Linked DNA regions of Homo sapiens: region 1 is linked to region 2. The links are contacts of gene promoters, found by promoter capture Hi-C in blood cells and fetal thymus (Javierre and others, 2016). All regions are on one chromosome and are shown on one strand. The core of a region is centred on a gene start or on the middle of the fragment in contact, and the rest is flanking DNA. Distances in the headings are between cores, read along the strand shown.

Region 1 (4,235 bases), core at 788-3,287, 590 kb after region 2:
CATTAAATTACACATGGAGGCATCAAAACCAATTTTAAGATATATGTTTGCCTCTCTGATCAAAGAGGAAAGATCGTAAGTCAGATAAATCCTTTCCCCTGGCTTATACATATATATGTTGATATATTAACAATTATTTAAGACAGCAGCCATTAGTTAACAAAGCAACCCTTTATTTAGAAAGAAAAGTGGCATATTTTGACATATTTTCCTGGTCATTCATCAACATTAGCTAGTAGATGAGCATGTCTGTATGTGTAAGATACGTTACATGTGTGTCTACCTGTCCAAGCAGCCCCTCTACTTTTGCTCCAGTAGATTGTGTGTGTGTGTGTTTGTGTGTGTGTGTAGACAGGATCTTGTTCTGTTGCTCAGGCCGCAGTGCAGTGGCACAATCATAGCTTGCTGCAGCCTTGACCTCCTGGGCTCAAATAATCCTCCCTCCTCAGCCTCCCAAGTAGCTGGGACTCCAGGTGTGCATCCTGTAGATTATTGAAAGCATGCTTGCAGGTTACCTGTAGAGAAGTTACAAAGGAGACTTCATTGTTGTGGCGGGGAGGAGTCTCGGAGAACTCACATGGAAACATTTTAATTATAGTTCACTCTAACATCTTTGAACAAGCAAGCTGTCTTCACTGGCTCCCTCCAAGCCTCCATGCAGCTGCTCTTGCAATGCCTAGACCTGCCCCAGGCAGCACTCAGTCTCCCAGACTCGTGGAGCATCCTAGGGAGACCCTTACTTCCTCAAAGTTGCTGATCTTAACCTCCTCCCTGCCTAGCAACTTGGGTCTCAGCATTCCCAGCCTGGTCTCCCTGGAGAGTGGCTTTTAGCCTGAGAATTGGAGACCCAGCCTGAGGACACTAAGGTACTTGTGGAGAAAATACTTTGACATCTTGATCCCACTGTCCCCACCCTTTCACAGCAGAAAAATGCCCCTCCCACCCTTGAGTCACTTCGGCACAATCCTGTTCTATTCTTTATCTGCAATCGCACATTGTGCTCTCAATTTTATTTTATGCAGGCAAGCTCTTCTCTTGAACCTATCACACTACCCTGTCTGGAATTCTAGAGTGATCTATTGGCAGCTCCTTCTCTTCAGTTTTCCTGGCTCATCCTGCCACACTACACAGCCTCACCTTACAAAGAGACAGTGGAATTTGAAAGTGCCGGCTGGCAGCGGTGGACAGACGGCGCCACCACGCGGTAGCTTGGTAGCATAGGTTGCTAGACACAGTACCAGAAGGAAAAAGTTTGACCAGGAAAGGTGACTGTGTGTCGCTATCCAAATCTATGTTCGGCTTGTACAGAAGGTGTATCTGCAGAAGGCTAAGGACCATATATGTAAGTTACATGTAACTTTGGACATGTCCAACTTTGCTTTGGATATTTTTCAAAATAGTAACATCCTTATATTCTGGCTGTTATACCCTGATTTTTCACCCCCCATTTAATTAAGCATTTATAAAGCTCGTTATTGTCTTATTTTCCCATGTTGGGAATAAAAGTATAGCTTTTATGTGACCCTACGTAGAGGGGTAGAAATGTGAAATGGGCCAATTAAAGTGTCAGAAGCTACTCCAAGCTTTTGATGGTCTACCCTAGCAGGGGAGCATAGAGGTGCGAAAAGTCCTCACTTCCAGACACCCAAAAATCAGTTCAGTTTTTCTTTTTGCCATTTGGAGGGGAGAGGGTGACATTTACTTTTCTAGTGACTTAAAAACATAATGTTATTTATTGCATGCGTTCTGGGAAGTGAAGAAAGTGGGCCAGGCCAAGGAAGTCCACCGGATGCATGGGCAAAGCCAGACCAGGATCAAACAGGTTCTCACCATCCTATGTAATTTGCCATCAAGTCATTCATCAGTCTGTCCATCCATCCATCCCTTCAATCCACAGAGATTCACTGAGCACAGGATTCATCTTTTTGGAGAGAGAGAACTTAGAATAGTTATTTCATCAACTGCAACTGGGAAAACAGGCTTGAATTTGTAGGACTGGTGGGCTGGACATGACTTTGAAAGATCATCTTGCCTCTTAAGTATTTTTTTTTTTTTTAGCAGTTGAGCTTTTGGAACAAGTTCCTAAGCGAACACTCTGGATGGAATAGATACCACCCTTTCCATGAAAGTTCCCCTCTGCACTTGGCAGAAAATCCCTGATCTAGCCCAAGTCTCTAATGTTATAAGTGAAGAAACTGAAGTCTCAGAGTGGAAAAGGAAGTCATCAGGGATGACTCAAGTCAGAGCTCCTGGTTCCTGAACCCTGGGGCTCTTTCCTCCCCTCTAAGAGCTGATCTGTCTGTAGCTGGTCATGTTTCCATTTCAGAGGGTGGAGGGAACATCCAGGATGTCTCAAAAGGTCTGCTTTCCTCATTGTCTCAGCTTCCCCTCTGAAGCTCACTCCCCCCCACCGCTTTCTTGATGTTTTTTCTCTTGTCCCATTTGAACTGCAAGAAGTGCCCCTCCCATTCTTGGACCACCTGGAAGCTTTTGAGCAAGCTTTTGGAAAATTATCTGTTTTGTGCATTGCAATAGAAAACTCAAATGAAAGGAGCCAGATGGGATTGAGGGCTGGGAAGCGAACAGGGAGAAATGAATCATCTTGGGCCTCATCTCCAGAGTCCTTGTCCAAACCTGGGCAATTCTTATCCCCCTCTGTCCCTCTCTTTCCTCTCCCCTTCTCCCTTCCCATGGCTTTTTATGATAATGCTTTTCAAGCTCCCAATAAGAGCAACGTTTTACAGAAAAAAAAAAATAAAAGGGACAGTGTTTTGCCAGTAAGATGTGTGTTCCCGTGTTAGCACCACTGATCGCCCAATAGTTGCACGTCTAAGATTTTTCTTTGACTGAGAAATCCTACCAGGGAAGAAGAACTACTCCTTGGAGACTTTGTCCTCCACATCCCCAGTTCTGTGCTGACAAATACAATCCCGTCGTTACCTGGAAACCTGGTGATTTTCCAGAACACGTGGAGGAGAATGAAGAACTTAATAGCCATTTGCCTGCAAAATATGCCATCATGGAGCCTGGTGCTTGTGAATCTCTGGGTTGAATTGGATAAACAGATGGACAGATGGGTGAATGATCTGATTACCTGCTAACCTGAGATTGCCCACAAGGTTCCATCTTGGTCTGGCTTCGTCTGTGTCTGGCAGACTTTTACGACCCACTTTCTTCACTCCCCAGGACTGATGGAACAAATAACATTATTCAACGGAAGTCATTCGAAAAGTAAATGTATCACCTCAAAAATGGCAAAAAGAAAAATCTAGTTGATTTTGGGGTGTTCTGAAGTTAGCACTCTTCACGCCTGTACTTTCTTCTCCTAGCACAGACAATCCACATGTAGGGTGATGGTTGTGTGTGTTTGGGGTTGGCCTCACTGGTATTACAAATCCAGTTACTGTCATCCATCTCTTCCTGCTACTACTTACTCTGAAAGATGGTTTTCCTTTGAAGGATGGAGAAATTCTCTAATCCAGACCTCCTGACAGCTAGGCTGCAAACACACACACACACACACACACACACACACACTCTTACACTCCTACAAAGACAAAGAAAATCCTGGGAGGGATTTTAAGACACGTGCTCATTTCAGCACTCTGTCCTCCTGGTGACATCTCTCTATGAAGCATCTGGGACTTCACCTGACAAGCACCTGACAACCTGACTGAGCACTCGGCCCTTACTGTATGTGCCTCAGTTTCTACGTGCATCATGTGAGAAAGGCAGATTGTATCCATGGCTATGAGACTGTTGGGCTTTGTTGGACAATGAAGACGTCCCCCAAATATGTAAAGACTGACAAACGACGGCCACCCTTTATATTTTTCAAAGTGAAGGCATTGAAGGAAAGATGCAATCGTAGACCGCCATGGTCAGTGAATTATTTTATGAGAGATCACCCTTCTAGAAAGTGCAGCCAGGTGCAGTGGCTCATGCCTGTAATCCCAGCACTTTGGGAGGTCGAGGCTGGTGGATCACTTGAGGTCAGGAGATACAGACCGGCTTGGCAAACACAGTAAAACCCTGTCTCTACTAAAAAATACAAAAATTAGCCAGGCTTGGTGGCAGGCACCTGTAATCCCAGCTACTCGGGAGGCTGAGGCAGGAGAATCGCTTGAACCCGGGAGGCGGAGGTTGCAGTGAGCTGAGATCGTGCCATTGTACTCCAGCCTGGGCAACAGAGCGAGACTCTGTCTCAAAAAAGAAAAAAAAAAGTGTTATTTACC
Region 2 (4,235 bases), core at 257-2,756:
CTAAACCTCTATTTGATTGAGATCTGCCTTAGTCACTTTTTGGTTTACATCCATGATAACCCCGCCAGGGTTTGAATCCACAGTGTCTGCCTCCCAAGTGGCTCCAAACCCTACCTTTCCCTCCAGATGTCCAGTTCAGAATTTGATTTTACTTATTATTCATTTATTTTTTTTTTTGAGATGGAGTCTACCTCTGTCACCCAGGCTAGAGTGCAATAGCGCGATCTCGGCTCACTGCAACCTCCACCTCCCAGGTTCAAGCGATTGTCCCGCCTCAGCCTCCTGGGTAGCTGGGATTACAGGCGCCCACCACCATGCCCGACTAATTTTTGTATTTTTGGTAGAGATGGGGTTTCGCCATGTTGGCCAGGCTGGTCTCAAACTTCTGACCTCAAGTGACCCCCCACCTGCCTTGGCCTCCCAAAATGCTAGGATTACAGGCATGAGCCACTGCGCCCAGCCCAGAACTTAATTTTCACAGCAGGATGGAGTGGCCAAACCATTAGCTCTCAAGAGCTGGTTGCTGTCGCACTGCAGAGGGAAACGGAAATGTGCTGTCCCCAGAAAGCAGAATGTTCCTGAGGGCTTAGGGACCTCGCAGCCATGGGGAAAGTCTGGGGCCTTCACCCTCACTTCCTTTAAAAACCGAGGGTGGGGTTCAGCTAGAGGCAAGGGAACTTTTCACTTTGCGCCTTGTCCACTTTAGTTGACTACTTCGCAGCTGGCATTCTACCTTGATAATGATCATTTCAACTGAAACTATTCCTCTAAAAAGAATAGAGTCCAAGGCCTGGGACTTGGATTCAGGCTCTGGGACTCAGGAGTTGATCCTCCTTGACGTTCACCTGGTGCAAATTTAGCCTCAGCTGATACTTAGGAGGCAAAGGCACAGACGGGGATGCGGGGAGCTCAAGGGCTGTCACCCTGTAGAAACATTTCTGACGCCCAGTCCAAGCCTGGCCTCGGGGCTGGCCGGCTCCTCCCCGCTCCCTCGTTTACAGCGAGAGTCTGGGATGGCACCCACGAAGCTGGTGGCGCCAGCCCTCCTGCCCCATCTCCCGACAGTACTGCAGCCAGGTGGTTAGCAGGTCCGGGAGGGAGCAGGAACGAGGAACGCCACCCGGGCTGGAGTTCTTGGTTTCTTGCCCCGGCTCGAATGGGGAAGAGCCTCAAAAGAGCCTCGCGCCAGGCCCCCGGAGGGAGACGCGCCCCTGGCCCTGGGGGCCCCAGTGGGGGTTCGCGGCCGGAGCGCAGGCTGGGGCGGGAGTGTCTCCCGGAAGCCGGGCGGGCCCAGGCTGCCCCATACGGAGTTGGGAAAGTCTCAGGCTTTCAGTTTGAACCGAGGAGGCCGAGCAGTCGGGCAGAGGTTCCCGACGGCCATTGGCTGCTGCGGCGCCGTGACATCAGCGCAGAGGGGTGCGCGGGGAGGGTTGCGCGGGGCGGGCGCGGGCGGAGCCTGGAAGGGGAGTGTCCTGGAGGCTCCCAGCCCTGAAAGCCCGAGAGCCAGAGGGAAACAAACGCCGGCGCTGACAGGGGCCGCCAGCCCCTCCGCCGCGCGGAGCCCACGAAGGGGACAGCGCAGCCGGCCCAGAGCTCGGGTCTCCGGGGACCGAGGTAGGCGACGGGCAACCGCCTCTGTCTGTGGTAGCCGCCTTCGCGCTGGGTGCCCTGGGTGGGCTTGGGGGTCTCGAGTCCCCCTGTGGGGCAGAGAGGATCGAAGCTGGGGATGCGAGGCCGCGGCGCGGGGAGAAGGGCGCGGAGCCCCCACTTCTCGGCGCTCGCGCTTTTCACCGCGCCCACCGCGGTGCCTGGGACCCTAAGCTGCGCACCTAGTGTCCTGGCAGAGCGGGATGTGTGGAGGAGGAGGTGGCAGGGAGCCGGGCGCAGCGTTGCCGGGACTCCATTTCCTCTCTCCACGCTGGAACTCCCGGCCCTGGCCAAGGGTGCCGCTGAGGGGGTTGGGGGCCGGTTTTAAAGGGCCTCCCCCTTCCCAGGAATGGGGTGTGTGTCGGTGTGGGCAGGAGCGCAGCAATCGGCGGCGCGCGGCCCGCGATCTCCGCGAGGGGGGCGTGTGTGCGCCCGGAGTTCTCCATGAATAAGAACCGAATTCTCCGCCTGTACGGGCAGAGGCGTGTACACATCTCGCTCTCGTACACACACTGCAGCACACGCCACCCAATGTCACCCGGCCGGGAAGCCAGAGGGAAGGAGCTGTCTGGAAGGGAATGGCCGAAGGAACAAATGGTCCTCCTTTCCCCTACTCCCGCCCCGCGAACCCTTCCCTCCCCCGCCAGGCTCCCGCCCCGCCCGCTCCCTCGGAAGCCCGGGAGGCCGAGGCGCCTCCTGGCGGGGTGCGGGGGGAGGGCAGTCGAGCCACCCGCCCCCTTGGAGCCGGGGAGACGGCCGCTCCTGGGCTAGTGCGCCCCGAGCTCAGCGCGCTCAGCGGGATCGCAGGCGGGAGCGGTCGGTTAATGATTTAATCGCCCGCTTGGGGCGGGTGCGCGCGGATCGGCCGTCCCTGGCCCCGCCCCCTCTCCGGAGCGCCCCCAGCCGGGGTTACAAAACTGCCCCCTGCCCCCGGCGCGTCCCCCAGGAGCCATCCTGCCCGCGGGGATCCCGTCAGCCGGTGAGTGCCCCGGCCGGGAGGGCTGGAGAGCTGGGCGGGAGCCGGGGCTGAGGCTGAGCCAGCTTCCTGGGAGAGGACTGAAGTGCGTGTGTGTGTGTGTGTGTGTGTGTGTGTGTGTGTGTGTGTGTGTGTGTGTGACTGGGGGAGGGGTGCTCGCTGCTAACTCAAACCAGGTTCCCTGTGTTTTCCCAGTGACTGCGGCCTCGGCTTTGGAAGTTTTCTTTTTCTCCCTGGGAGAATGGAGGGGAAATACAATGCCTTTTCTTTTCTCGTTGCCTCTGGAACTTCTCTCTCTCCACGACTCCCACCCCTTGCAATCTGACCGGCTCCCACATCCCTTACTGTGTGCCCGGTGCCCACTGTTTGCCCAGATAGCTGAGCAGCTGGATCCGGGTGGAGTCCTTGGGAGCCCCCGTCGCTGCGAAGCCCCCTGCCCTCCCCTGAGGGTCCAGGGTGCTGGAGGGAAAATCTCTCTCTCGTCCGAACCCCAGCAGCCATCTGTACCAGAGAAATGTCCCATCCAGCGAGTGTAAATAATGAGGGGCCGGTGACAGGGGCCTCCTGCAAGGCGACTTCTTTGGCAGTCTGGGTTTCCAATAACTCCCTCAGCCCCCGCCCGCTTCTGAGGCTAGGGTGGAGGAGGGACCACCAGCAGGGTGGACTGAATTTTAAGAGAACAAAGAACAGGCCACAAAGGAAGGGATTGCTGAGCTGCGGATTTCTGATTTCTCCCAGAAATCGGGAGTTGGCTGGGACTGAGCCAGGCCCTAAGAGAGCCCCTGGCAGCCCCAGGGGCTCCTGGGGCAATAACAGGGCATCCACCAGGATCTCCTGAGGCTCTATCTCTGCTGAGAAGCCAGTGCCTACTGAATGCGGGGGTGCCCTGCCGGTTCCTGCTCTCATCAACTGCCCTGTGTGAGCTGCACATGTGACTGACTGATTAGTGGGGTGGCTTATCTCCTCTGAACTTGGACTTTGCCTCTCCACTCCTTGAAGACAGCTGCTCCTTCCCACAAGGGGTGTTCAGTGAATTTGGGGAGATCCCAAGTGGATTCCCAGGCATCCTGGTGGACCCCTGCAGGGACTAGGAGGGGCCCGCTGTGATCATATGGGCGGTGGTTCTGGGGTGAGTCTCAGCGCCTCCCCTCTGAAATCTCCCTGAAGTCCTAGGGTCCCTGCACACAGAGGGCAGCTTGCTCCTGCTCTGCTGTACAGCCTAGGCCTGTGCTGTGAATGATTCTCCATTTTCTGGGGTTTCTGCCTCTCTCTTTTTGGATTCCTCTTCTCTTTTCCCCTCGTTTCTCTCTTTCCCTTGCCCACCCACCGTGCTTGTCCCCATCCTCTGTACCCTGCCTCCACTGTGCTGCTGCCTCTGGAACCCGACAGCACCTCACAGAACCAGAGACCAAGGAGTCAGAAGCAAAGGGAGGTCTCATGTATAAAGGTCAGGGGAGTGAGTGTTGACCTGGGAGAGGAATCTTACACCAGTCTTTTGATTTTAAAAATAATTTTTATTTTATTTATTAATTTTTTGAGACCAGGTCTTGCTCTGTCACCCAGGTTGTGGTGCAGCGTCATAGTCAAGGCTCACTGCAGGCTGGACCTCCTG

What was found. Contacts are between HindIII fragments. The CHiCAGO score rates a contact against its expected background, and 5 or more counts as called.
Region 1: a contact is called between a fragment that was not itself captured here and the fragment with the promoter of CDC42EP4 in region 2, in 3 of 17 cell types (non-activated CD4 T cells, total CD8 T cells and fetal thymus). The highest score is 7.9, in non-activated CD4 T cells.

The regions. Positions count from the first base shown.
Region 1 is chr17:72,722,624-72,726,858 of GRCh38, reverse strand. The region is part of intron 7 of SLC39A11 (solute carrier family 39 member 11); the gene reads left to right. Among named protein-coding and RNA genes, the nearest start is that of LINC00511, 84 kb to the right of the region's middle. RefSeq lists a silencer at 1,129-1,198 and an enhancer at 1,249-1,318. The HindIII fragment of the contact is 904 bases long and covers 1,586-2,489 here.
Region 2 is chr17:73,309,272-73,313,506 of GRCh38, reverse strand. It overlaps CDC42EP4 (CDC42 effector protein 4), which reads left to right and starts at 1,506. Exons shown (of 2, transcript NM_012121.5): 1 at 1,506-1,614. RefSeq lists silencers at 1,128-1,287, 1,358-1,617, 2,068-2,617, 2,628-2,757. The HindIII fragment of the contact is 11,652 bases long and covers 1-4,235 here.